7 separate regions of the Homo sapiens genome follow, and regions 1, 2, 3, 4, 6 and 7 are each linked to region 5. The links are contacts of gene promoters, found by promoter capture Hi-C in blood cells and fetal thymus (Javierre and others, 2016). All regions are on one chromosome and are shown on one strand. Each heading gives the region's core, a stretch centred on a gene start or on the middle of the fragment in contact. The rest is flanking DNA. Distances are from core to core; before and after follow the strand shown.

Region 1 (3,812 bases), core at 994-3,493, 350 kb before region 5:
AGGCAGAGGTTATGGTGAGCTGAGATCGCGCCATGACACTCCAGCCTAGGCAAGAAGAGCGAAACTCCGTCTCAAAAAGAATATGGTATAAAATACACATAACATAACAAAACGTGTTGATCAACTGTTTATGGATATCTATAAAGCTTCTACTCAACAGTAAACTATTATTAGTTAAGTTATGGGGGATTCAAAAGTTGCACTTGGGCCAGGCACAGTGGCTCGTGCCTGTAAACTCAGCACTTTGGGAGGCCAAGGCAGGCAGATCATTTGAGGTCAGGAGACCAGCCTGGCCAACATAGTGAAACTGCATCTCTACTAAAGATACAAAAATTAGCCAGGCATGGTGACGTGCACCTGTGGTCCCAGCTACTCGAGTGGCTGAAGCACAAGAATCGCTTGAACCCAGGAGATGGAGGTTGCAGTGAGCCGAGATCATGCCACTACACTCCAGCCTGGGCGACAGAGTGAGACTCTGTCTCAAAAAAAAAGAAAAAAAAGAAAGAAAAACAAAAGAAAAGTTGCACTTGGGGGCCAGAGTCCCTAACCTCCTCCACCCCTCTACTCACCTTTTATAACTCTACTGTTCAAGGGTCAACTGTATTTGGCCTGGGGTCCTGGGTACAGGGCTCCTCAAAGTGTCTTTGGTATACTAATGAGATGATTCTTGGCTGAAGGGGCTTCTAGATGGCTTCAGATGGGGCCAAGTGGCCGGAAATATCATGGCATGACTGGAAGGCTGGAACTCAGGCCCACACTTCCCACCTCATTACTGCCCCCCGCCAACAACTGGGGAAGGGAGACGGACTAGAGATCGAGTTCAATCACAATGGCCAATGATTTCATCGATCATGCTTATGTAATGAAACTTCCATAAAAACCCTGAATGACAGGGTCAGAGGGCTTCCAGGTTGATCAACATATGAAGGTGCTGGGAGAGTCGCACTTGGAAAGGGCAGGAAAAGACTCAACCCCCGCACCCTCACACCTTACCCTATGCCTCTCTTCCATTTGGCTATTCCTAAATTATATCCTTTATAATAAATGGGTAATAGTGAAGCGCTTTCCTGAGTTTTGGGAATCATTCTAGCAAATTATCAAATGTGGGTTGGGTGGTTTCAGGAACCTCAGTATTTGCAGTTGGCTAAGCAGATGTGGGTAGCCTGGGCACTCCATTTGCAGCTGGTATCTGAAGTAGGAGCAGCCTTATGGAACTGAGCCCTTAACCTATGGGGTCTACGTTAACTCTGCACAGTGTCAGAGTGAACTGAATTATTGGACACCCAGCTGGTGAAATCTCGAGAAGAGACTGTTGAAGTAAGGAAAAAAGCTACTCACATACTAACTCCGATTACAGGTGTGATGCACAAAATAAATTGGTGGTAAGCAGTTTTAGACTTCATGGAGCCATGAACATCAAAAGCAGACTAGATAAATCAATACAGAACTGGCTGCCAATATTTTGCCCTACTTGACAGGTATGCGATGGGGCGGTGGTGGGGACAAACATAACTTATTTAAAATGATATTTCTGGAATCTAAAAATAGGAATATTTCAAAACAAAGACAAATCATTAAATGCAATAACTTGAGCTTTCTAGACAATTCCCTCTATTATCTGCAGATTTTGTTTTCTCCCCGTTTCTCCCTGGTCCAGTGAAATGCTTAGCCAAGGGCCTGCTTTAAAATATGGCTGGCCTCAGCCACAAGAGACAGTATTGCTGCATGGACACTGGTGAACAAATACTAGAGCAATGCATCATTTTACTACCATCCTATCTGCATCATGACAAGCCTCAAAATGAATGCCCAGTCAAAGTCTTCAAGATTCTGAGTCAGTGAAGCGACTACGCAAAAGATTAAATTAGTAAATTACCAAGCTGTACTTTTGTGAAGATCAGGCACTAAATTAGTTATAAACAAAAACTTCATTTTTATGACCCAGTGCAATTGGTATATATAGTTAATTATACTTCATCTTCTGATGTTAATTTTGGTATTTTAAAATAAAATATGGCATTAAAAGGCTAGAGATAGCTGGTTTAAAAGAAGGGAAAAAAGGTCTAAAAACCAAGACACCAAATTACAATTTTGTAGTTTTGTCAGGTAGTTCATTTCTGAATATTGTCAAATTGACTGAGCAGGTATATGTGATGAGAACGCTTGCCAAGTTCTATTCTCACAGGTACCAGTGAATGAAGCGCTTCCTGGTATTTAAGCAGACTAAGGATTGCTAGGCTAGTCTTGTATATACTATTTATTGAGATTGCAGTAAAACCAAGTTGTTAACAAATATCAATTTCTTTTCAAAGATATCACTTATTAATCATTACTTGTCAAAGAAAGCATGAATATGACAATATGTAGCACACAGTAGGCACTCTTTAAATGCTTTTTCAGCACTTACTGTAATCTAACAAAATCCTACTCATCAAGACCTGGATCAAATACTATTCCTCTTATTAATTCTCTCTGTGGTTCCCAAAGCCAGAACTAATTGCTCCTTCCTCCGAGTTCTCAGAGTATTCATTAATCTCTCAACAAACAAGACTCTCTGAGGAGGCAATATTTAAGCCATGGGAAAGACTTGAGTTTTACTCCAAGTGTATACTGGGAAGCCACTGAAGGGCTTTAAGCAGAACACGGCCTACATTTTAAAGATAACTGTAGCTACTATGTAGAGAAAAAATTCAAGAAAGTGGCAGCAAAATCAAGAACAGAAGCACAAATACCAGACGAGAAAAAAAGGAGGGAGAGGAAAGCACTGGGGATGTATGTTGCAAGTACAGAAGAAAGGATCTGTAGATAGACAGGATGCAAAAGAGGAGGCAATCAAAAGGAGGAAAAAAATTATGGATGCACCTAGCATTTTAATGATACTCCCAGTTAGTATGTGATATGCTGTAAAGTATTAAAATGTACCACCACTGAAAGTCATGGCCCAACTCACTTATTCAGAAACATGTCTTCATCATCTTTGAAAATGGAAAATATGTCATCCCTTCTTGAATCCCCTATGTGCAGCACAGAGCCTAGTCTGTAGTGAGTTATCAACATGTGCACAATAACCTCTACTATACTATCAGCCTCTTAAGAGAATATATCCTAAAGAAAGAGAATTAGCATCACGTCTGTTATGATACTGAGTCATTCTATGAACTAAGATGTCATTTATTCAGAAGATAAAATACTAAGAAATAACACTAAAAACTTTGGAATTTTAAATTCAGGATTTCCATCTTATTCTCTGATATCAATTTATTGGGCTATGTCTACAATATTATGACATTTCAAAGATTAAAGAGGCTCAGAGTAAACACAATTGTGTTAGGTTTCAACTCGATTCCACAAATATTGTTCACATTTATAACACAGGTCCTGGCATATAGTAAAAGTGGGCGAGACCAGCTCAGTTATATAAGATTGTGGGCCAGGCGCGGTGGCTCACACCTGTAATCCCAGCACATTGAGAGGCTGAGGTGAGTGGATCACCTGAGGTCAGGAGTTCGAGACCAGCCTGGCCAACATGGCAAAATCCCATCTCTACTAAAAATACCAAAAATTAGCCAGGCATGGTGCCTCGTGCCTGTAGTCCCAGCTACTTGGGAGGCTGAGACATGAGATTCGCTTGAACCTGGGAGGCAGAGGTTGCCGTGAGCCAACAGTACGCCACTGCACTCCAGCCTGGGTGACAAAGTGAGACTCTGTCTCCAAAATATATAAAAAAAAGGCCGGGCGCGGTGGCTCACGCCTGTAATCCCAGCACTTTGGGAGGCCGAGGCGGGCGGATCACGAGGTCAGGAGATCGAGAC
Region 2 (4,042 bases), core at 1-2,500, 500 kb before region 5:
ATGATGGTAAAAACTTACTGTTTTGGAATCAAGCAATAAAACAGATTTTTCACAGCCTTAATTCTGACGAATTTAACCCTCATTTTGTTAAAAATGAAAAGGAATAAAACTGACTAGAATTTCCCAGTCTCTGAAATATTGGATAGATTTCTACATAAAATCTTTCATCTGGCCAGGCACGGTGGCTCACACCTGTAATCCCAGCACTTTGGGAGGCCAAGGCGGGTGGATCACCTGAGGTCAGGAGTTCAAGACCAGCCTGGCCAACATGGTGAAACCCTGTCTCTACTAAAAATACAAAAAAATTAGCCACGCACGGTAGCGGGCACCTGTAATTCCAGCTACTTCGGAAGCTGAGGCAGGAAAATCTCTTGAACCCGGAGACGGAGGTTGCATTGAGCCAAGACCGCGCCATTGCACTCCAGCCTGGGCAACAAGAATGAAACTCCGCCTCAAAAAAAAAAAAAACAACTTTGATCTTTCACGTAATCAGACTGAATGTCATAATTTCATTGATAGATTTTAGGGGTATTTACTATGAAAGGCAGAGAAAGTAAAAATTGGTAAATTAGTTCATTAACTGGATAAAAAACAAAAGACATTCAAAAAGACATTCACTGCTCCAAAATAGCCCATAATGGAAAACTAAGAAATAGTGGGTACTTATGCAACACACAGTAGGCCCAAGGCACTACCAGGTAAGAGGCAAAGCTTCTGTGGTTCTTGTGACACCAGGACTGTAAGATTACACTGTAAAAATATAGCAGTCACTAAATATTAAAAATGAAAGGATAACAAAGTATCACACAGCATCTGTTCCTGGAGTCCCGGGGTGGTAAAGAGAGCCACTAATAGTTAAAATGTTCTAATTCAAAATATAAGTTAGAACAGTAAGTTGAAAATGTCTGACAGCCACATTCTCCAAAAAAAAAAAAAAAAATTATAATACTCAGAATGAGAAACTGAGCATTCATACACTGATACTACTATAAACTTTCTTGATGCAATCTGGCAATATGTATTAAAAGCCTCAAATCTGCACCATACAGCTGACCTAGCAGTTCCACTTGTAAGAATCCATCCTAAGGAAATAATCAGATGTTACATAAAAATACTTGTTTGTAATAGTGAAAATATGGAAGGAAAAACACTAAATGTCTATCATTGACAGAGCTGACTTTAACGATTAAGTTACATGTATACAATTTACCATATATCCATACTATAGAATACAACAACAAAAATGATGTAGAAAAATACACTCTGAAAGGTTATCCCAATATTTTAAAATGTCTTAAAGCTGACTACTGAGCAGTATGTATATAATCCAGTTTTTAAAGTTTATTAAAAGTCTGTTGCCGGGCGCAGTGGCTCACGCCTGTAATCCCAGCACTTTGGGAGGCCGAGGCGGGTGGATCACGAGGTCAGGAAATCGAGACCATCCTGGCTAACACGGTGAAACCCTGTCTCTACTAAAAATACAAAAAATCAGCCAGGCATGGTGGTGGGCGCCTGTAGTCCCAGCTACTCGGTAGGCTGAGGCAGGAGAATGGCGTGAACCCAGGAGGCGGAGCTTGCAGTGAGCTGAGATTGCGCCACTGCGCTCCAGCCTGGGTGACAGAGCAAGACTCTGTCTCAAAGTCTGTGTGCCTTCTATCCAGAAAAGAGGTTAACATTAAGTGAATAGAAGATTACTTTTATTCTTTTTACTTAACATACTTTGTCTTTGGTCTACTATCTAAAATACTATTTGTACAAGATCTACAGGCTCCATGCACCCTGATATTTCAAAGCTTACATCTTGAAAGTAATTCCACTAAAATCATCTTTGAATAGGTAAAGTGATAAAGTATAATGATGCTAAGAGTAAGAATGTTTCCGTAATACAGGTTTGTCTTACCATTTCATACATGATATGAACTTTTATACACTGTAAAAACCTTACGCAGTTCAATCTACAAGCTACATCTATTTCAAATTTGAACGCTGCTTTTTTAAAAACTAAAATATTAAATAGCATTTCTGGTAACTGAAGGACATTCTTTTCCATTGATATTTAAAACTTTCTATTCCAAACATTTGTTTTATATGAAAACTCCCAAAGTCATCAACTTAGATTTGATGTTTCAGTGACATTTTAATATTATTAACTGCAAGTAACTTGAGTAAATATATACATAAAGCGGAAGACAAAAGGCTGTATAAGGATAAACACAAGTACCAGAATCAGCGGAGTCAATTTAACTTCCACTTCCCTCCTTGCTTCCTTAATGTCGGCCTGGTGGGAAGCAGAAGCAGATCGGCGGGCACTTTTAGGTGGTCGACCAGGGGATCGGGAGCGTGACCTTGATCGACTCCCTCGGCGTCTGGAAGGGGAACTGGAAGTTGAGCCACCTTTCCTTTGCCTAAAGGAAGTTAAAGGCTAGAAAGGGGGAAGAAGGCAAAGAGCTTTACCACAAATCATAACACATACAGACAGACCCACACTAGAAGAGGATAACAAAGGCAGGAACTGCTACCATTAACTCTAAAATCAGCACGGGAAATGTTAGGATCTGAGAATGGATCAGATGAAGCCAATGGAAAATGCTTTCATAATGATCCATCTTTCATGAGACAAATGCAGCCTTTCCATTCCTGTTCTTTGAAGGTATTTCCATGAAACGAATGTATCTAAACCAATTAGCTGTACTTATTTCCAACACCATATGCAAGAAGGGTAATAATTAACATGGATTAAAACTGAGACGACAGGACAAAATAAATAAGCACACAGACCAAAAAAAAAAAAACAGTACCACAGTTTCACTCTGAACAAAACACATAAGCAGATCTTGAAAATAAAACATGAGCTTGGATGACTGGGAACTGTTTCACTGTGTCCCCACCTACTCCGAATCTCCTTATGTTGCTTCTAGGGATGTAGACAAATTACGCCCCAGGCCAAGTCCCTCACCCCAATTTTTGTGTGGCCTTCCTACTAAGAATGGCTTTTACATTCTTAAATGATTACAAACAAAATCAAAAGAACAGTATTTCCTGAAGTGTGAAAATTATCCAAAATTCAAATTTCACTGTCCATAAAGTTGTACTGGAACACTGCCATGTCTGCTCCCTTCCATACTGCCTGGAGCCGCTCCCATAAAGTCTAAAATATTTACTTTCTGTGCTTTATTCCTGGTCTAGAGCACTCGAAGTGTCATCCTCAGCCATGGGTCCTAGAAATGCTCGTTACTAATCTGTGCAAGTACCAAAATTGAGAAATAGGTGTATGGAAATGTTTATAGCATTTTGACAAAGTAATCTCATATCTATCGAATCTGATAGTAAAACTGTGAGTCGTCTATTGTGTATGTCTTTATTTTTCTAGTAACTCATTTTTATGGCATTTTATATAAATGTTTGTATACTACGGATCAGATATCTTAAAACCCAGGCCCTCACCAGACAGGTTGAAAAGCCCTGGGCTAGACTCGAATCTAATTAATGTCACTCTCCTGATTAAATCCTTGGTGTTCAGGATGAAGCCCAAACCCTTGGGCATGGAATATAAAAGCCCCCCCAGCCTGGCTCCTGCTTAGCCCTCCCCTACCACCCCCTTCCAGCACTTGGCTGACTGTGTCCCCCAGACCCCTGACTTTGGCATACTGCCCTCTCTGCAGAAACAGCCCCATCAACTGCTGTTTTTCCTGTTTGTTCTCAGCACTTGGCTAGGTGTCACTGCCTCTGAAAGCCTCCCCTGAAGCCCAGGGCTCTTCTCTACCCTTGATACACTCAACACCACCCACAGCAAACTCCAGACACAGAACGTAGTAAACCCAGGGGACCAACAGATGCAAATGGCTGTCTTTCCCAGTAAGTGTGAGCTTCTTGGGAACAAGGACTATGCCTCATTCATACATTCCCAGAGCCAAAAACAGTATGTGACCCAAAGCAAGAGCTCAATCCTCTGCCTTCAAACCGAGCTGAACTGACTATCCTGAGCTTAGAAACCATACTTAGAGTTATTTCCCACTTACTGTAAACACACTCTGATAAACCA
Region 3 (4,075 bases), core at 954-3,453, 390 kb before region 5:
ATTAGTAGGGCAAATTTATCATGAGATTTCCGGAAGACAGAAAGGGTAGGAGTTATATGTTTAGAATTCTTCCTTAGTCTCCTAGAGACTAATATTCAACATCTCTACTTACATGTCCAGTAAAAATCTCAACCAAACATCCTCAAAATTCATTTTTGACATCCCCCAACAAGACCTGCTCTACGCAGTCTTTCACAACTATTGATGGCAACTCCATCCTTCCCACTAGCTTAGCCTAAAAACCTCAACCCCTCTCCTTCCCTCATCCCCACCATACAATCCACCAAGACATATAAGGATCTGACTTCTCAACAACCACTTCTATCACCTGGGGGAAGCCACCATTATCTCCTGCCTAGTTCACTGCAACAGCCTCTTAACTGGCTTTCTTGTTGAGCTGCTGTCACAACACTGCACCTGCCTCAAGTCGTCTCTCAATAGTGTAGGCTCAACAGAGCAGACTGACTGATTCTGCTAAAATTTTAAGTCAGATCATGCCTATGTTCAAAACTGTACAATGGTTCTCCTTTCTCTCAGAGTAAAGGTTAAATTCTTCACAGTAGCCTGCAAGGTCCTGCATGATCTGACCTCTACTCCTAATACTCTCTTGTGCTCCAGCCTCCACGGCCTCCTTGTTTTCCCATGTACACACAAGCATCATCCTTCCTTAAGGCCTCTGCACAGAATGCACTTACATAGGTATCTGCTTGGTTAATTCCTTCTTTTCATCTCAATGAGATCTACCCTGACCACTCTATTTAAACTCACAAGTACTGAGACTGATAAGTAATGGACGGAAAAATAAAATAAAATTACAACCAGCACTTCCCTCTGCCCCTTCACAACATATAATCCTCCTTACTCTGTTGCATTTTTCCCCATAGCACTTACCATCTTCTACTATACCATGTCATGTTTATTGTCTGATGAGTTTCAGGCTTTTTGTTCCCTCCACTCTCCCCACCCTTCCCAATATAAGTACTTAGAACAAAAAATGCCTGTGACATAAATAAATGGAGCAGTGGAGGCATCCATAACCCAGAACACATACTGAAGACGGTCAAAGCAGACATGGGAAGAGGAATCTGGGAAAGATCTAACCTGAGGTCAGCAGGTAGAGAGAACGGGAATGAGCAGTGCCACAATAATCAAGCTGATTAATAAGTATATACACTGTCTGAAGAACAGCTGTACCAGCTCCTCCCCTGTCCTCCCCAACCCCAGCTCAATGGATGGAATGGCATTTACCACAGAAGACTGTTCTCTAAAGAAACTGAACAAGCTGCCTCAGATGAGTTGGGGCTTCCAGTGGAACTTTTAGTAGCTCAGCGTTTGTGCGGTTCTGAGGCCTGCCTGCTCACCATCCTGGTACTCCAAAGGTTAGCCTGTCAGCCTACGTACTCTGACCACTTTCAGAGAACTCCTAGTCATGGAAGAATGCTGCCCAGTAGAGAATGATTTTGTATTCTACTACTAAACCCTATAGTAATATCTGAAGATCAATGTGTTACAGAAACAGCCAACAATATTTCAACTTTTTAGTTAAATTTGTCACATGAAAATCATAGTACTCACAGATCACTTTATAATTACAAAAGTAAGACTTCTTGAACCATAAGAAGATTTTGAATTCTGTTAAGCGTATTTACAATATTTTAAACATACCTTAAGTATAATTTTTACAAAAAAAAACACATATGAAATTTTATAACATCTCATGTCCAGCATAACAAGTATCTGGTAACTTACTAATGACAGTCACAAAACTTACTAATGTAAGAATAAAAGTTGTGACTCTTAAACAGCTGATAAGACATAATCTACTTTAAACACAGGATGTTCAGTTTTGTCTTCTGAAGCATAAAGAAAAAGTACAAACAATAACTTGAAAATTTACCTTCTTTGAATTTCCAATTCTTCTTGGGATGGGCCATTTTGAACTTGAGCAGGTAGTTGTGAGTTTTGTCTAGGCAATGTTGGCCCTACAGAGGGAGAAAACATTACAGATGAACATTATTTTCATATCTAGCTGGACAGAGGAGATAAAATCATGAGAATAACATAAAACCATCACATATTTACAAACGTGTCTTCTTTTTGTCTAGCAAAATAAAATATAAGCTTTACATAACACAGAGCAAATGAAAGACTGCAACATAATACTGTCATCATCTCCAGAAGGCTTACTTGAAACAAATGGAAAACATCAACAATAAGGAAAAAGAAACATTTATATATGAAGAGCTTGAGTAAAACAAGTGTTCGATGAGCATCTGAAGAGGCACCTAAGCTTGACAGTTTCTAAGACAATGAGACATTCTCTTTGGGGTAATTATTCATGAAGTGGAGAGGGAGAACTTAAATGAAAAATCAGAATTCAAAAACTCACCTAAATAGAACACTGGAAATGAAAAACAGGAGAGAGAGAGAGCATGAGAACCTTATTACTAGACTCCAGTATGCTAAAGCATTTATCAAATTTGCCCAATTTAAGCTGCCATTTTTGTCTAATAGCCTAGCATTTCCAGCACTGGTGAAAACAAACATTTGCTAAACTTCCATATAGTAATTAACCTACTGAACTGAATTTTTAATGTAACAGGTAATTTTAAGTTTTCATTTAGGGTAAGAAGAAAAAAAAACTTGCATTCATACAACATGGTTCTGTCATGAGACACTAATGACCATCCATTCCCACATATCATGTACAATGCAGACCTGTTTTTTGCATCTTAGATAGAATGCCACTGAATTATGGGACATCTTAATGTCATTGGATATAAAAATCAAATCTGTCACAAAATGAGATAAATACTGGACCTAATATATAATACCTAGGGTTAAAATAGAACAATCTTAAAGTCTAATCCAGTAAACAAGAAAGTAAAGAAACAGTAGTTATCTTCCACTCTTGGAGAAGAATATATGAGTAATGACACACTACATATATTTGTGAATTCTAGTGTACCAGCAAATGCTCCTAACAGATATTCTGAAAGATTTGTAGACAACTTAGGAAAATAAGTTACGAAATAAATGCTTCTGTGCACTAAATTCTTGTAATCTATGGGCTAATTGTGCAAAGTATTTTATACTAGTGGAGTAGATTTCACAACCGGAAGTAAAGATTTATTAGGATGTAATGCAGTACTGGTGTATCCCAAGTGTGGAAAAACAGAATTAATTTGATCTGAACTTACCTACTAACTTTTTTTCTCACCTCTTTACAAATGTTTTTAGATTAATCACTTTATTTGTCCTCTAAAGACAAATTGATGACAACTGCAGTGATATATTTCATTAGATTTCCTAAGAGTCTGCTATTTTGAGAACCAAATAAATATTATAAAAAAAAATTAATCCCATGTAATCAATAACAAAAAAAAACAAAACTTTTGAAATTAAATACACACGTAAATGTTTGTATAAATGAAAATACATGATTGCTGTCTAGTAAACAGACTAGAATTCTTTTCTTGGGAAATTAAAATAATGATGTAAAAACAGACTCTCCTATTAGGCTATACACAAATGTTTAATACTTTACAGAGAAAAGACCTCTCTTCTGGGGACACACAAGTGTGGGGAGGGGCGGGTAAATCTGAGGTAGCATGAAATTATTTAGGGAATGTACTTTATATATCCAAAGTACTAAATGTGAGCATTTAGCATGGGCAACTCACAAGACCATTATGTTTTAACTATTTTTTAAAATAATGTTTACTTGAGTATTTAAGTTGAAAGCCTCAGGCTGCTTAAATAATGAAACAGCTGAATGTGAGTAGGTTAGACCTGTTTGGCATCTACCTCAAAGAAGAATGCAATTATACCAGTCACACACCTAGGACAGGTGTTATATATCAAAGGTAATATTAATGGATTAAATTTGCCAATTAAAATCTCAGTTTTAATTCAAATATATAGATTCAAAAAAGACGTCAAAATTTCAACTCAATCCTATTTATTTTATTTAACAGGTTTTTAAAAAACTAACACAAGTTTAATGTAACTCACAAAAGCTGAGAAAAGAAAATCTTTTAGCAATTTACAGAACCTGCTTTGGAATATTTTTTTA
Region 4 (4,083 bases), core at 292-2,791, 480 kb before region 5:
CAGGAGATGGAGTTCTCAGGGCTTTATCACAGGCTGGCCATCGAAAGCCACAGGGAGCCCTCAGGCTAGCCAGGGTCACATCTCACCTCTGCCCAGCCACCCCAGGTGTTTCCTAGAAGCCCCCCCTTTTCCCGCTTTGGCCTGCCTGGCTCTTTTTGGCTTCTGAAAACAAAGAGAGGAGCTGTGTGCAGTCAGCCTGAGACACGTGGGAAGATGGTTGCTGCCCCTGCTGGCCCTAAAGCTCCAGAAAGCCAATGCCACCGTGCAGGCGGTGGAGAGCATATTCTGATATGGGAGGAGGAGGCGTCCGCAGACCCCTAGTTCCTAACTTTGGGTCATGGCCAAGGGACCTCCTGGGGAAAACTGCGTGCTAGAGAGCCGGTGAGCATATCTTAAGTTAGGCCCAAAGGGGACTGGGTGGGTTTCTTCCTCCAGCACCCCTGCTCTTCCCAAGAGGAGCCCCTTTCCTTCCCTGAGCTTCCCCTTCCCAGGCTCCTGTTTTGACAGGATGCCTGGGTCTGATCACAGCCACAGGCCCGTTTTGGGCTGTGTTCCCCCTGGAGTGTATTGGCCAAGGAATTCCTGGAGCATTTGAAGAAAGGCCCCTTCCCAGGGGCAGTATTCCTCCTGTAATTAAAAGGTTGCATTTCAAAGACACTTTTAATGACCCCAACCGTTGTTGCCAGAAAGAAAATGCTACAGAAGACGTGACTGACAGATTGCAGGGAGAGTGTTCAGCCCAGTGCTGGTGCAGATCCCCGTGAGGACACAGGAGCAGGGGGTTTTGTCATCTTGAGGACCCATAGCTGACCGATGTTCATGCACGCAGGAGCATGTGTACCAGGCACCGGTCTAGTGGGAGAGTCAGAGGAGGTTGCAGCGGGCACAGAGTGGGCATGCTGTGATGGAGGCCAGGCGCCTGCAGGGGAGGACATCCTTATCTATGGGACCTGGCAGGTAGAGGGGAAGGCACTCCCTAGGGAAGGGCCAGAACAGACCTTAGAAGGGTGTATACTTGGGATTTAGATGAAGGAGAAACCTCCTTTCCTCTCACTTCCCTCTCTCCTTGTTCTTCCCTCCCCGAGGGCCCCTCCTAACCCACTCCACTGCACAGCCTGCAGCTTGGCCAGAGTTCCTTCCCTACCAGGACTCACTGTCTCGCTGGGGCCTTGAACCCTCTCCCCCCACCAAATAAGGTGCTGGTCTGGAGCTGAGCACACACCACAGTGGCCAGTTATGGTCAGTCTGTCACTCTGTTCCTTCTCATCCGAGAACTCAGAAAGCATTCACTGTCACTGGGCTGCGATCCCAGAACAGCCGCTATTCAAAACATCTTTATAAGGTCTGATTCTGCCTCTGCCTCACCCCAGCCCAGCAGAAGTCGACTTGGCTCTGGAAACATGATGGATTTTTATTCAGTGTTTTATTGGCCAAACACATATCTTCGGGATAAGATCTTCGGAAACTCACAGGGTTTGATGGAAATGCTCACAGCCTTCTTCCACACACATCTCTGTCATCGCTGGCTTCTGGACTTTTCGTTACTTTAGCCTGGGATAATATTCATCCTTCACTTCATCTGACCGAGACACAAGGAAAGTTTATACCTCAAACTATGCACGAAGCAGAGGAAGCTCAGTTTCAGGGATCTTTGTGAGGTTGTCCTGGATAAGGGTCCCGTGAGTCTCTCAGAAATTTGTCCTCCCAGAGTCAATTCAACCTGGGGACTTGTCATAGCTCTGTGGCCTCAAAAGCCTCTCATTCCCAGGCACTGTGACGGGAACACTGGGCTATTGTGTGACAGGGCTAGCTAGCGTGTGCACAGCTCTCGGCTGGGATCAGAGAGAAGTTTGCAGGCAGACCCAAGGTTTTAGAATCACAGAAATCTTCACATCTCTTCCCTTCCCAGGACCCTCCATCGTGGCTTCTGGCTGAGATTTTAGGAGAAGGATGCTCAGTCCAGTTGGTTTTCAGGTTGTGTCCACTCTGGTGAGAAAAGAGTCCGGCTTGGTGGGGGTGGGCAAAAGTTAACCCTCTCAGGGTCTGAACTTTGGGGTGGCCTCTGGGTTTCAGCGCCTCCCTCTCATTGAGTCCCAGGCTGCTGACCCCCCTGTCTGGATGTCCTCATGGTGCCTGGGGCATCCTGCCTTGGGTACCCACTATTTCTGCACCCCAAGGGCAAATTCTGTGTCTTACTTGGTGACCCAGGCGCCACCTTCAGAGTAGGAATTCTATAAAGACTCCCATAAAGCTGAATGAGGGAAGGACCCAGCAAAGGGTGGAAAGCTGAGATTGAGGAGCTGTGCTTGGGGAAAACCCCACATAACTGTGTTCTTTTCAGCCTCTCTATTTGCTTGGATCTCAGCTTAACACAATTTTGGGTTTCTTTTTTTTGTTTTGTTTTGTTTTTCTGAGACGGAGTCTTGCTCTGTCGCCCAGGCTGAAGGTCAGTGGCGCCATCTCAGCTCACTGCAACCTCCGCCTTCCAAGTTCAAGTGATTCTCCTGCCTCAGCCTCCCAAGTAGTTGGGACTACAGACGTGTGCCACCACAACTAGCTAATTTTTGTATTTTTAGGAGAGATGGGGTTTCGCCGTGTTGGTCAGGCTGGTCTCGAACTCCTGATCTCAAGTGATCCACCCACCTCGGCCTCCTAAAGTGCTGGGATTACAGGCATGAGCCATTGCACCCAGCCACAATTTGTTATTGAAAAAAAAAAAATTCCCACTCTTCACTACCTCAATTCAATCATAGGGCCACCTGTATCCTCTATGCCACCTCCTAGGCTGGGCATTCACCCGTCGAGCTTACAGGATGAGTCAGAACCCATCCTTGCTCTCCCGGAGCCTGAACTCTAGAGTGGGTTGGGAACAAGGAAAGGCAGGCGCCGACTGCCAACTATACGGGTGCATATCTCAGCGCGGTCACACCCTTCTTGCCCAGACCTGCCTCTGCTCTGTCCTCCTGGCCCCTGAGGAGCACCTGGGGCAGAGGAGGAGCCCCTAGGAACCTTCCATGATAGAGCACAGGAGTCTGCAAGCGGTTGATTTGGTCTCCTCTACCCGGCCCCTCCCTCTCTCTGGACCCTGCAATGTCGAGGTAGAGAGTGTTATTCCCATTTTACAGATGAGGACAATCAGATTCAAATAGGTCAGGTGACATGCCCACAGTCGCACAGTGGGAAGATGGCAGAGCCAGGTCTCTGCCGCCTGGAAGGGAAGCCTGTGCTCTGCTCATTGGAGAGCACTGCCTCCCTCGACCACTGCCAAGCTTTGATGGCAAAGGAGCAACAGAGGTCACGTGTCAGGGATTAGCAAGCAAGGGTGACAGGAGGAGGTGGCATTCCAGAAGGGCCTTGGAGTATGGGCAGGATTTTAGAAGACAGTAGAAAAGATGGGAAGGTTGACGTGGCAGGGGACACAGAGAGAGCCAAGTTGGGGAGGCAGGATGGTGCAGGCCATGCCCCGCAGCAGCTGATGATCCAGGTTACCCAGGGGCAGCCCCTATGCCTCACACCTCCAGACCCCCTCCAAGGCAGAACAAGCTCCTGACACATTTCTCATGATTCTCCAGAATTCCAGGGGGCGTCTTTTCCAGTTATCTAGGGCTATGACATTGTACCACACTGTGAGATAAATAAAATATGTATAAGCATCAGCCACTGTTTCTTCTTCTTTTTTTTTTTTTTTTTTTTTTTGAGACAGAGTCTCGCTCTGTTGCCCAGGCTGGAGTGCAATTGCGCGATCACAGCTCATTGCAACCTCCACCTCCCAGGTTCAAGCAGTCCTCCTGCCTCAGCCTCCCGAGTAGCTGGGACTACAGGCGAGCACCACCACACCCGGCTAATTTTTTTGTATTTTTAGTAAAGATGGGGTTTCACCATGTTGGCCAGGCTGGTCTTGAACTCCTGACTTCAAGTGATCTGCCGGCCTCGGCCTCCCAAAGGGTTGGGATTACAGGCGTGAGCCACCACACCCGGCTGCAACTGTTTCTTCTGATGAATGCAGCTGTGCCAGTTTCCAGGCAGCCTGTGCGAAGCTCTGCCAGCTCATCGTCCTGCTGTCGCAGCCCTGGGGCTTCCTGT
Region 5 (3,787 bases), core at 934-3,433:
ATGCCATCAGCTTCTAGGGTGAGGGAGAGAGCCGAATGAGTGGCCAGGGCACGGCTCCCACCAGCACCCACCCATTAGCTGCCATTCGTGGGTCAACCCTCCCCTCACACAAGGGGCATCAGGGCTGAGATGGGCACCTTCTCCACAGAGCTGATGGTGACACCAGCCGCACAGGAGACCACGATGTGTCTGGCTTGCACGTCGGCCCCAATCTCATCCAGGATGAAGGGGATGATATGTGGCTTCACAGCCAGAAACAGGACGTCGCTGTGCTTCACCGTCTCCTTGTTGCTGCGTGTCAGGTTCACACCCATCTTCTGCAAGAGGAGACTCCCAGCTCACAGTGCTGGAGCAGCCTGGCTATGCCAAGGCCTCCCAGGGAGCAGCTGAACCCCTGCCAAACCGATTCTGCCAGATGCAGCCTGGAATTCTTAGCTTTATGCCCTCAGGGTTCTACCCCTACCCCAAATAATACAGTTTCCCATTGTTGCTACTGGACAAGTAAGCACAGGCTTGGAGCATGACAAGCTTCTCCATGGTAACCAGGAAGTGGCTGCCCTTCTTCCCTGCCAATCTTCTGGTATCTAAGGCACTCCTCTGCCAGGTAAGAAGGCCCTATGGTGAAAGTGGCAGGGCAAAGGGAAATGCTAATACCTGGTCGTTAAAAGCACAGCTGAGTCAGGCCCTATCCTAACCCTGGCCGCTTGTTCGTGGGGACCGCACAGTCTCCATGTGGTCCAGGGCTAGGCTGGAAGCCATCCATCCCTCTATGACTCCAAACTGAGAAGCAGGACCCTCCAGTGCTAGGGACATCAGCCCACCCTAGGCACAGACACTGCCTGTCACCTGCCTCATCAGCCATCCTCTCCCACAGAGCACAGGTTTTGGGTGAAGACTTGGAATATGTTTTTGGAGAACAGAACAACTAACTCACCAGATTCTTCCCAATATGCTCATTCACGACTCAGAATAACAGCAAAGTGGCCACTGTTGTAAATGAGGAAATAGCCTCAAAGTGGCTGAGTACTTTAAGGTCATACAACTCGTCTATTAAGAAAAATGGCTGAGCGCAGTGGCTCACCCCTGTAATCCCAGCACTTTGGGAGGCCAAGGCGGGCAGATCACTTGAGGCCAGGAGTTCGAGACCAGCCTGGCCAACAGTATTCTCTACCAAAAATACAAAAATTAGCTGCGCGTGGTGGATGCCTGTAATTCCAGCTACTCGGGAGGCTGAGGTGGGAGGCTGAGGTGGGAGGCGGAGGTTACAGTGAGCTGAGATCGCGCCACTGCACTCCAGCTTGGGCGACAGAGTAAGACCCTGTCTGAAAAAAAATTTAAAAAATGAGTATTTATTAGGTACCTACTATGTGCCAGGTGCTTTCATCACATAATCACCTCAGTTAATCCTCTACCACTCCAGTGTCTGGATCTGACCCCCAGTTATGTCTCCCTGGGTGTTCCCACCACATTGAGCTGCCCAAGAGAAGGTGGAAAGATTGTCACGTTCCTGGAGTAAAGGTCACCGCCGGCCAAAGACCAGCACTTGGGCGCAGGGGCCGGCCAGACTCACTTCATCTCAGGTCATCCTTTTCCTGGGCCTCCACCCGCTTCCCACTCCGCCCGGCTCCACCTACCCTGAGCGCGGACACCGTGGGCAGGTTCATTTCTGGGGAGCTGGCTATTATCTTGTGAGCCGACAGGATGCCTGCAGAAGACAGAGCTTTTCAACTAGGGGTCGCGGCCCAGCCCGTTACCACGCTTTCCCTGGCTCTAAAACCCAGAGCCGTCCTAACAGTGCCAGTCTCCCTCTCCCCCTCAACCCTCTACGAGGACAGAAGACGCACTTGCTGCTCAACCAGAGTCTCATCTACCCCACCGGACGCAAACTCCCCTTTCATTCGCTCATGCTGGTGGGACGGAGGCCCCCTCGGGCCTCGGGACCGCCCGCGAAGCCGCCTCCCGCCTCCACGCGCTTGCCTGCGGCCGTGAAGCCCCGCGCCAGAGCATAGGCCAGCTGGCCGGCCCCGATGAAGCCCACGCTCATGGTCCGCGGTTCACGCCTCCTGGGAGCCGCACGAACCCCCTCAGCGAGGGACCGGAAGTAACGCTAGGGGAAGGGCGGACAGCGCAGGGGCGAACGGGCGGCGTGCCGAGGACCGGCGAGCTAACAGCAGCTTCTGGGATGGTGCAACCCTATTCTCCCCCGGCGGATATCTCCCGGGCGGCTGATGGCGCCTTAGGCCACGTGGCCCCGCCCCGTCCGGGCGACCAATCAGTGGCCAGGATCTCGGGGCAGGCCAATCCGCGGCCCGAGCCAGGCCGCGTGCCCGCCTCCTCCGCTCGCGACTGGAGGGCGGAACTCCGGGCTGGAGTCCCGGAAGCCCCTGTGGCAGCTTGGCGTGAGCTCCAGGCGCCCGCCGGCCCAGGACGCCCGGCCGCCCCCACCCCCCCCCCCCACCCCAAGGCTGAGGTCGCCGTCCCTAAGCCACCTCGGGCTCAGGGCTGAGGCCTGGCCCAGGCCTGGCTAATATTATTTCTGGCGCTGGCCATCAGATGCCCCTCAAGGCCCACAGGAATTCTCCAGGTTGCCGATTTGCGGGGATGAACGAGGCCCTCCTGGCGTAGGTTCAGACCAGGTGGCGGCGAGGTTCAGACCAGGTGGCGGCGAGGCGGCACCAGGGTGGTCAGCCGCGGCTTATTCACTTGAACTTGAGTGTTTCTCGCGAATTTGTCCAAACTAGATACAAGAAGGACAAGTTCGAGTCTCCGACTCTTCCGCGATCCCGCACCCCCCAGCCCCTTGCTGTCACTTGCCTTTTTTTTTTTGAGACGGAGTTTCACTCTTGTTGCCCAGGATGGAGTGCAGTGGCACGATCTCGGCTCACTGCAATCTCCGCCTCCCGGGTTCAAGCGATTCTCCTGCCTCAGCCTCCCCAGTAGCTGGGATTACAGGCGCCCGCTACCACGACCGGATAATTTTTGTATTTTTAGTAGAGACGGGGTTTCACCATGTTGTTCAGGCTGGTCTTCAACTCCTGACATCAGGTTATCCGCCCGCCTCGGCCTCCCAAAGTGCTGGGATTATAAGCGTGAGCCACCGCGCCCGACCTGTCTCTTGCTTTTAAAAGCTCCACCAATGTGATGTTTCCTTTTCTATCAGTAGTAAATATAAGGGGCCGCAGGGAACAAATGACAGAAGTAGAGAGGAAGAAGGTGGCGTTCCTAGAGGACTCAGAAGAGCTGAGGACCCTTAGTTCCCATGGTCTCTCTGCTAGCTTTTCTAGTCCTTTCCGTGTAATGCACACCCCCACTCCCAGGCAAGGGGCTGCTTTCTGTGAACTTCCCTGAGCAAGTCCCCAGGCCCTCAGTTTGTGCACCCTTTAAAGTGAGGACCAAATATAATATTTACTATTAAGCAAAATAATGCTATGTTTTATTTATTTATTTATTTATTTATTTATTGAGACAGAGTTTCGCTCTTGTTGCCCAGGCTGGAGTGCAATGGCACGATCTCGGCTCACTGCAACCTCCACCTCCCGGGTTCAAGCGATTCTCCTGCTTCAGCCTCCTGAGTAGCTGGGATTACAGGCATGCGCCACCACGCCCGGCTAATTTTTTGTATTTTTAGTAGAGACAGGGTTTCTCCATGTTGGTCAGGCTGATCTTGAACTCCCGACCTGAGGTGATCTGCCTGTCTCAGCCTCCCAAAGTGCTGGGATTACAGGCGTGAGCCACAGCACCTGGCCTCTGTATTTTTTAAATTCGAAAAGTAATACAGACATATTGA
Region 6 (4,055 bases), core at 64-2,563, 410 kb before region 5:
TTCACTAGCCAATGCTACAAAGCCAGACACGAGAGACAGATTTGAGGAATGGCATCTAAGGTGGCCAGATGGAGCAGGGGGAACATATTATTTGTTGCACACCAATATACAGCACAGACAAAGCAGAGTTTGCCCAGCTGAATCAGGGAGGAGGGCATGAAGGTTACACTCTGAAGGGGCACAGCCAATAACCATCAAGCTCCTAAGGGAAACATATGAATTTAGGCGAATTCCTTCCTTTTAAATTAATGCAAGGGAACTGAGATTCTAAGAGATGAAAAAAGTAGTGAAATGTCATTCACTCATTTAAGGAACAGAATTAAACTCCACAGGTTTGAACTTCAATGCTTTTCCCATAATTTCACATATTCAACTCACTTTACTAAGACTGCCATTAAAAATTTATAAATAACAGTCAAAACAAGCCACTTCACATGCATAGTTAAAAATTAGCAAATATAAGTTCAAACTAATTAAGCCCAAATTAAATAAATGCTGACACTATTTCCTGAATGAGCTGTGCCTGAATTCCATATTTTAAGGTATGGTAGACTATCTTTATTAACTTACACCTTTGTCCTCTTTTTGTTCTGTTTCTATTGTTGATCCCTTTTCAGCAATTCTTCTCCTACAAAGAAGGCAAATCCGATTTTTAAAAATATTATCTGATTCAGTATAAAAACCACTTCTCTACGAGGAAAGAAGTGCATCTAGTTAGTTGTATTTGGAATACAATTAAAATCCTCTCAATTCTGGGCATGTCCATTATAATGAAATTCCTTACCTCCTGGCCAGCAGGGCACTCATTTCTTCCATTAAACCACTACCCCCTAAAGGAAGGGGTCCATTTCCACGGCCTGTATCTGTTTTAGATGAGGCGGAGTTCACACCAATAGCATTCCCTCCACTTGGGAAAGAGGTATCCTCCATCTTAATGAGAATATACAGACATAATCAACTCCTATGTTAGACAACCATATTTTTATTAATATATTACATCTAAAACAGAAGGAAACATCAGCATTAATTTTAAAAAACCTAAATATTATTTTTTAAGCTTTAAGAACCAATAGATTCTTAGCATGACTTTATATATCAACAAGAGTTTATCAAAACTACTATCACCAAGAATGCAATGAAACAGTATCATGTATCTCTTCCTGTGCTGCCATGAAAAGGGCATGACTTTGCTCTGATAATATTCCTGCTAAAACAACCCCTGCATAACTAGAATCTAATCTTGAGGAAAAATCAGATAAGCCAAAGTGAAGGATAACAGGCAAAATAATTGTCCTACAGTCTTCAAAAATGCCAGTATTATGAAAGATTGAGGAACTGTCATAAAGTATATCAAAGAGACATTATAACTAAATGCAATAAATGATCTTGCACTAGGAAAAAAACTGTCACTAAAGATGTCATTGGACTATAGATGAAATTTGAATAATACATTTGTAGATTACAGTATTCTATCATGTTAACTTTCCTGATTTTGATAATTATATTACTGGTTATGCAGGTAAATGTCCTTGTTCTTATAAAATTCACACTGAGGTACTTAGGAAAATAGAAGCTTGTGTCTCTGAGTTACTCTCAAATCATTCAAACAAAAGTGCATGTGTAGGCCGGGTGCGATGGCTCACACCTGTAATCCCGGCACTGTGGGAGGCTGAGGCGGGTGGATCACCTGAGGTCAGGATTTCAAGACCAGTCTGGTCAACATCGCGAAACCCTATCTCTACTAAAAATACAAAAATTAGCTAAGCATGGTGGTGGGTGCCTGTAATCCCAGCTACTCAGGAGGCTGAGGCAAAATCGCTTGAACCTGGGAGGTGGAGGTTGCAGTGAGCTGAGATCGCGCCATGGCACTCCAGTCTGGATAACAAGAGTGAAACTCCGTCTCAAGAGAAAAAACAAAAAAAGTGCATGTGTAAAGAAGGAAACATATCCAAAGAAGGAATAAAAAAGCAAATACTGGTAAAATGTTAATGGGTGAATGTAGGTGATGAATTTATAGAAATTATTTATACTATTCTTACAACTTCACTATAAAAATTTAAATTATGTCAATTTTTAATTTTTATTTATTTTATTTTTTGAGACAAAGTCTTACTCTGTCACCCAGGCTAGAGCGCAGTGGCATGATCTCGGCTCACTGCAACCTCCACCTCCCGGGTTCAAGCGATTCTTCTGCCTCAGCCTCCCGAGCAGCTGGGATTATAGGCATGTGTCACACATCTGGCTAAGTTTTGTATTTTTAGTGAGATAGGGTTTTAACATGTTGGCCAGCCTGGTCTCGAACTCCTGACCTCAGGTGATCCGCCCACCCCAGCCTCCCAAAGTGCAGGGATTATACAGGTATGAGCCATTGCGCCAGGGTAAATTATTTCAATTTTTTAAATCAATGAAGTTCATAACATTTCATAAAATTAGAATACAATAAATTCAACATTTTAGATATTTAGGAAGAATAAGACATATTAAAAAAATTTTTCAGAAAGGTATTTACCCGTGACACTTTCCTAAGTTTTGCTCCGGCAATTGCAGCTGCAAGTCCAGTTAAAGGGCGATTGTCTTCTGACATGGATGCCAAAAAGAATCCAGATGCAGGGAGGGGTGGGGCAGGAGGTGGTGGAGGAGGAGGGGGTACTTGATTAGGGAGAGGAGGGGGAGGAGGGGGCGGTGGAGGCCCGGTGGATGGGAGTGGAGGAGGTGGAGGGGGCCCTGGGGGAGGAGGGAGGGCTACTGAAGCCTGTGCAGGCCCTGGTGGGAGTGGTGGAGGAGGTGGAGGTGCAAGTGGTCCCAAGACAATGCCTGAGAGAGAGAAATGTTAAGTAAGACCATCAACAATAGAGCTGAGTGATATTATTTTATGTGGGAAGGTACGCAGAATGCCATGCTAAATTAAACTGACTCATGTATTTACTTAATGAGTCCAATTTATCATAGTTGTAAAAGTCTAGATCAGTTTTTGAAAGATACTGAAATGTAAGGTCCAAGTATATATAACTACTTACTTTAGGTTAGAGCTTTAGTAATAGAACTATGCAACAGATCATCTAATTAAGACTTTTTTTTTTCATGGGGATTTGGTAAATAAGCAAAATAAATACTTATAAAATTTGGAAGAGAGGTAAGCGTCCCTGAAAAAACAAACTAGTATATAGGATGGCAGTTAGTACTACTTGAAATATCAGACCCAAAATAATCCACATTAACCTTAAGTGTTGAGACAGTAAATTCAGTAACAGTGAACACATACATTTAATTGTTTACAGTCAAAGTGGCTGTATTAAAAACATGAAGGAGGAGTAAGTCCCAGCTTCAGCATTTTAAAAAATACTTCACATTTAAATTCAATGGATAGCCAAGGCTGAGAATCACTGAAGTAAAGGAATTTACTAGTACAAAGTAAAACCTCAAAATAACGCTCGGAAATAATTAAATACCATAGGATTTGAAGTAGAGTTGTTTTTATCCCACAAAATGGGGGGCAAGAAGAGAAATGTTCAAATGTTATAAAATCACAAAGGGAGTGAACAAGAATTTATTTAATAACAGAATCCTGAAACAGTAGGTGCTCTTTTAGTTAAGGTTTAAGAGGGGTGTTTTCAGAACGAATAAAATGCTATTTTGCACACTGGGTGGTAATTGCTAACTTTTTCAGCTTGAGCAGTTACACAAGCAGAAAACATCAATTGTTAAAAGAAGCATCTAGAAATAGTCTGTCCCTTCTGTAGGGGTTGTTAAGAGTTCTGAGGGTACAGCAGGTCACTTTGTCAGGCTGACTGTGCCCATTTTGTACAGTATAACTGTCATGGTGAAACCAAACTGAACGTCTTAGAATTCTGACTAACCTTTTAAGCAAATTTGTAAGTCAACAACAACAAAATATATACATATACAGCAATAACAAGCCTTGCAATGTTTAAGTACAAATTTGTTTTCAGTTTTCTTTCTGTAGTCCTCCTTAAATCATATTTTAAAAACTAGGGTTGCCAAGCATCTTCTTATTTACTTACAGAACCAGGTCCTTTTCTACTTACAAATAATCC
Region 7 (4,075 bases), core at 530-3,029, 430 kb before region 5:
GGCTGGAGTACAGTGGCATGATAACGGCTCACTGCAGCCGCGTCCTCCCTGGGCTCAGGTGATCCTCCCGCTTCAGTCTCCTGAGTAGCTGGGATTACAGGTGTGCACCACCATGCCTGGCCTAAATTTTTAAATTTTTTTGTAGAAATGAGTCTCCCTGTTACCCAGGCTGATCTCAAAACTTCTGGCCTCAAGCAATCCTCCCGCCTCTGACCAGTTTACCGAGCTATTTAGATGTCCTAACTACTAGGAATTATATGTCTTTAAAAACTGAGGAAAAAGAACAGCACTACTCAAATGGTATATTCTTTTTACTCTCAGCCACCAACTGGGGCCCCTAATTTTCTCCCTCTGCCTAGAATTCCTGTGTCCTACACCAGAAGCGTCTACGGGCCCTGCTCTCTGCTCTTTATGAGTATTTAACATGCTTCACAGAACGGGGGTGCAGCTCAGTGACTGTGATTCTTTGGTTCAAACACTTAATTGGGGCTTCATCTTTGATTTTTTCTGCATGTTAATCTGCAAATACTCAAGGCCTACTATGTGCTTTAAATGATACTAACACTTCCGTTTAGAAGGTTGTGTGCATCACAGAGTATCTGTAACGGGGACAGTCCTATTTCCCTTTCTCAATTTTCAGATGTATCGATTCCTTCAGATTTCAACAGAAATAACCAATAAATGTGGCAGACATTCTTACAACATCCTAAGTCATTATGACAGTCATTTATCCTTTTACAATGTTTCTGTTACTTTATAAAGAAAACTATTTAGAAAGACAAATTTAGTTAATTCTTTAGCAGTTGTCAAATGTGTCTCCTCACCAAAAGATTTTACTCTTATGTGACTTGACCATTAGTATTCCACAAATAATTTATCCTAGAACTCCATTTATTTATGTTGATGGTGAGTATCTGTAACCATCCTAAATTTACTGCATTAATATTTTACTTTTCTTTCTAATCAATTTTAGGTTTTAATTTGAAGGTTTCATCTTTCCAGTATTGATATTTTAAAAAATCTTGATGTCTCAAAAATTATCGAGAGATAACATAAAGGGGAACACACCAAATAATCCACAGCTTTTGATGTTGGGAACAGAAAAACCTGCATCACAGACCTCCAACAGTTCTTGGCTTCTATAAACGGACTTTCTTGAGGGGTTACTGACTTCAGCTGCTTAGTCAAATCTACAAATCCTCAAAAGAAAACTCTTCTTTAAGTAATTGTCCTCTACTATGTCTTTACATAGCCAAAGCTACCTACATCAATTTCATTCCTTCAGAGTCATGGAGATTCCTTATAAATACCTGTATGTCAAGTTTTGACTTTAAAAATATTAAATGGCTTTTAGTGAAAAGGCAGAGGTATTAAACATCAGTAATTTCAATATACTAGGATCCTTTTCTCATTCCTTAGAGCTTTGGAGAGATGTACAGATATGAACTCATCTTTCTATTAAAAACAAAAGTGGTGCTACCAGAAAAAGGTTTGGAGTTTGGAAGTGAATGAGAGTAAATGTCTTCAGGAAAGTGAATTTTATGATAGCTACATAAAGGAATTAAGAGCTCCTGCAGAGTTCCTTTGCGATGTTTGCTTTATATAGTTACTTTTACGCTGCTTATAATCGGTAGAATTTAAAGGGTAATGGTGTTATAAAATTATAATGGCCACACAGGAATTAAAGAGACCTTGTAGCATACCTTTGCACACTGTGCTTCATAGGGTAATACTACTTAGAATTAAAAGGCCAATTCTTCACAATGGCACTGAAAGTATATATAAATTTACAAGAGACATAAAAGTTGTAGCTAGGTAAATTTAAAAGATTATCATGTTACTTAACTCATTTTTGAATGACAAGTGACTTTTAATTTGTAGACAAAAATACTGACTTACATATGAAGAGAAGCAAGAACATGAGACAGGCTAGAGCAAAAAAAAAAAAAAAAAAACAGCTGAAAATTTTACAACTGTAACTCTGTAATGGCTGCAAATGTTAATGAATATTGGGAACACGCGGTCCACGAGAAGTGGAGAGGAGAATGGAGGGGGGAAGGGGAAAATTTGGGTCTGGTCAAAGAAAAAATACAAGGATTGTATTTTTGTATTTCTAATGAAGACATCAGAATTATAAAATGGAACTCAAAATTAATACTTTATAATAGAGAAAAAGTACTACTGCTTATATGTAGGTTTTAAGAAATCAGCATCATGTATAAACACTATACATATTTTGCTATACTTAAAATTCATTACTCAATAATGCCCTTTACCACACAATGTCCTTTACCATGCAAACTACATAAAGGATAATTCTAACTGCATGAATGAGTTTTAAGTACCTGAACGTGTTGCAGAACAAAATGGAATAAAAATTAAACACTTAATCATCATCTTGACTATAAGAGGAAGTTACTGTGTCAAGGTGGGCAGAGAGAAAATAAGAAGAGGGAACACCCAACAGTTATTTCAAACAAAAAGTAGACACATCATCACATATTTCTTTTGTATACATTACTTAGTATTCACGACTTCTATGAAATCTGTAAAGAATAGTGACGTGACATGTAAACTTTTAAGTAGTAAAGTCTTGGACTTTAAAAGGTGTTTTTCACATCCAATATAACTTACTTTAAAACAAATTATTTCAGAAGATTATCTAAGTGTCACAAACAAGCAACATATATATACTGCAATTTTATTTCAATCGCACAAACGAAGTTAGCGTGTAGGAAACTTAAATGAAACAAATTTAAACGAAATAGTTACGGTAAAAATAGCAGAAAACTGAAAATTCTAAAAAGGAAGTACACCTAAAAGCATGAGAATTCAACATTCATTAGTGTTTCATCTTCAGTTTTGATTGACACTTGATGCTTGCAAATTTTTAAACAAACTTTTAAATCATGATGACTATTCTGAAGAGATTTCAGCACCAGCACTAAGATTTGTACATTCAGTTTGTTTGCAATTGACTTGTGAGCCATTTACATAGTGGATAGTACAGACTTGTCACAGGTCAGATCACAGTGTTGAGGAAAGCAGTGCCTTCCTGTCATTAGAAAGGATCCCCTAAACTGTACTCAGCTTAAGACATCCAACGTACAAGAGCACAAAAACCATCATAATAATGTGGTTCCAAGGAACGTGGTTTTGATAAGGTAAATAACTTAGGCTTCTGTTTCCCATTTTAATTACTGAAATCTCTAATAATGACACAACTGTCATGTATGATAGCAAATGTATATAATAATTCATTCAGACTTCTTGGAAAGAACATTTAGCAATCTGGGATGATGGGAAATATAGCATGATTCAACACTGGTTTTTTTTTTTTTTTTTTTTTGTCAGTTTACACATACATCATGTTAATATTAGACCAAGGCACAAAACGTTTAGTGCATAAACCCAGTTTCTTTTAAGATTTAGCATTTTATTTTAGTCTCTTATCTTAGTTTGGACCACTTGTACCCAGTACTCTACCTACTACAGACTATTTAACTTACCCAACAAAATCAAAAGAGGTTGCTGACCAGATTTATAGGGGACATAACTGTTTATATTATCAAAGTGTTTGCATAACCAAAAGTACAATAATAAAGATGAAAATGCCTCCTATTTCTTTTAGAAAATAATACTTAATAAGCTTGCTGCATCTTTGATGTTTTTACTACTACTGCATGACAATGAATATCTGATAGAAAAAAGAAATGTATACTTGAATTATGATAGCTCATCCATCACAGTTTAATCTAAAAATGAAATTTCTACAGAAACAGGAACTATTTTGACAAAGAAAAAAAAAATCCCTCATCCAAACTTCTTTGTAGTGGTAAAGGCTGCAAATTTGCAGCGTTTAGAAAACTACACTATCAACAAGCTTTGCTTTATGGACTGAGATGTACAAAATCTAGAAAGCAGATGAAAGTGAATTATTTCAAAGTTTTAGTAAAACTTCTGATAATCAGAGTTCAAAGCAAATATGGCACATAACAACTCAAGCATAAATCAAGATGGAGAGCCTGGAGAGTTTCTTAAATTTTCCAAAAAGCTATCATTCCAACATGTAGGA

Evidence for each region. Contacts are between HindIII fragments. The CHiCAGO score rates a contact against its expected background, and 5 or more counts as called.
Region 1: a fragment that was not itself captured here is called in contact with the fragment with the promoter of PYCR2 in region 5 in 1 of 17 cell types (naive CD8 T cells); the score reaches 7.0 in naive CD8 T cells.
Region 2: a contact is called between a fragment that was not itself captured here and the fragment with the promoter of PYCR2 in region 5, in 6 of 17 cell types (naive CD8 T cells, neutrophils, total CD4 T cells and 3 more). The highest score is 9.0, in naive CD8 T cells.
Region 3: a fragment that was not itself captured here is called in contact with the fragment with the promoter of PYCR2 in region 5 in 12 of 17 cell types (total CD8 T cells, total B cells, naive CD8 T cells and 9 more); the score reaches 15.1 in total CD8 T cells.
Region 4: a contact is called between a fragment that was not itself captured here and the fragment with the promoter of PYCR2 in region 5, in 12 of 17 cell types (naive B cells, naive CD8 T cells, total B cells and 9 more). The highest score is 8.6, in naive B cells.
Region 6: a fragment that was not itself captured here is called in contact with the fragment with the promoter of PYCR2 in region 5 in 13 of 17 cell types (total CD8 T cells, total CD4 T cells, total B cells and 10 more); the score reaches 12.3 in total CD8 T cells.
Region 7: a fragment that was not itself captured here is called in contact with the fragment with the promoter of PYCR2 in region 5 in 6 of 17 cell types (neutrophils, naive CD8 T cells, total CD8 T cells and 3 more); the score reaches 7.8 in neutrophils.

The regions. Positions count from the first base shown.
Region 1 is chr1:225,570,891-225,574,702 of GRCh38, forward strand. The region is part of intron 1 of ENAH (ENAH actin regulator); the gene reads right to left. Among named protein-coding and RNA genes, the nearest start is that of ENAH, 80 kb to the right of the region's middle. The HindIII fragment of the contact is 4,198 bases long and covers 145-3,812 here.
Region 2 is chr1:225,419,856-225,423,897 of GRCh38, forward strand. It overlaps LBR (lamin B receptor), which reads right to left. Exons shown (of 14, transcript NM_002296.4): 3 at 2,222-2,422. Among named protein-coding and RNA genes, the nearest start is that of LBR, 6.2 kb to the right of the region's middle. The HindIII fragment of the contact is 1,082 bases long and covers 710-1,791 here.
Region 3 is chr1:225,528,657-225,532,731 of GRCh38, forward strand. It overlaps ENAH (ENAH actin regulator), which reads right to left. Exons shown (of 14, transcript NM_018212.6): 4 at 1,898-1,982. Among named protein-coding and RNA genes, the nearest start is that of LINC02765, 63 kb to the left of the region's middle. The HindIII fragment of the contact is 169 bases long and covers 2,120-2,288 here.
Region 4 is chr1:225,446,600-225,450,682 of GRCh38, forward strand. It overlaps LINC02765 (long intergenic non-protein coding RNA 2765), which reads right to left. Exons shown (of 3, transcript NR_187303.1): 3 at 1,405-1,986. Among named protein-coding and RNA genes, the nearest start is that of LINC02765, 19 kb to the right of the region's middle. RefSeq lists enhancers at 1-112, 113-673, 674-1,233. The HindIII fragment of the contact is 3,451 bases long and covers 1-3,267 here.
Region 5 is chr1:225,922,067-225,925,853 of GRCh38, forward strand. It overlaps PYCR2 (pyrroline-5-carboxylate reductase 2), which reads right to left and starts at 2,184. Exons shown (of 7, transcript NM_013328.4): 1 at 1,978-2,184; 2 at 1,635-1,705; 3 at 138-317; 4 at 1-13. The coding sequence starts at 2,044. MIR6741 (microRNA 6741) reads right to left here and starts at 76; the gene lies at 14-76. RefSeq lists silencers at 1,781-1,910, 2,221-2,310, 2,451-2,530 and an enhancer at 2,081-2,730. The HindIII fragment of the contact is 26,114 bases long and covers 527-3,787 here.
Region 6 is chr1:225,512,087-225,516,141 of GRCh38, forward strand. ENAH (ENAH actin regulator) reads right to left here. Exons shown (of 14, transcript NM_018212.6): 7 at 2,510-2,814; 8 at 785-930; 9 at 571-628. Among named protein-coding and RNA genes, the nearest start is that of LINC02765, 46 kb to the left of the region's middle. The HindIII fragment of the contact is 516 bases long and covers 1,056-1,571 here.
Region 7 is chr1:225,492,129-225,496,203 of GRCh38, forward strand. ENAH (ENAH actin regulator) reads right to left here. Exons shown (of 14, transcript NM_018212.6): 14 at 1-4,075. Among named protein-coding and RNA genes, the nearest start is that of LINC02765, 26 kb to the left of the region's middle. The HindIII fragment of the contact is 3,735 bases long and covers 1-3,647 here.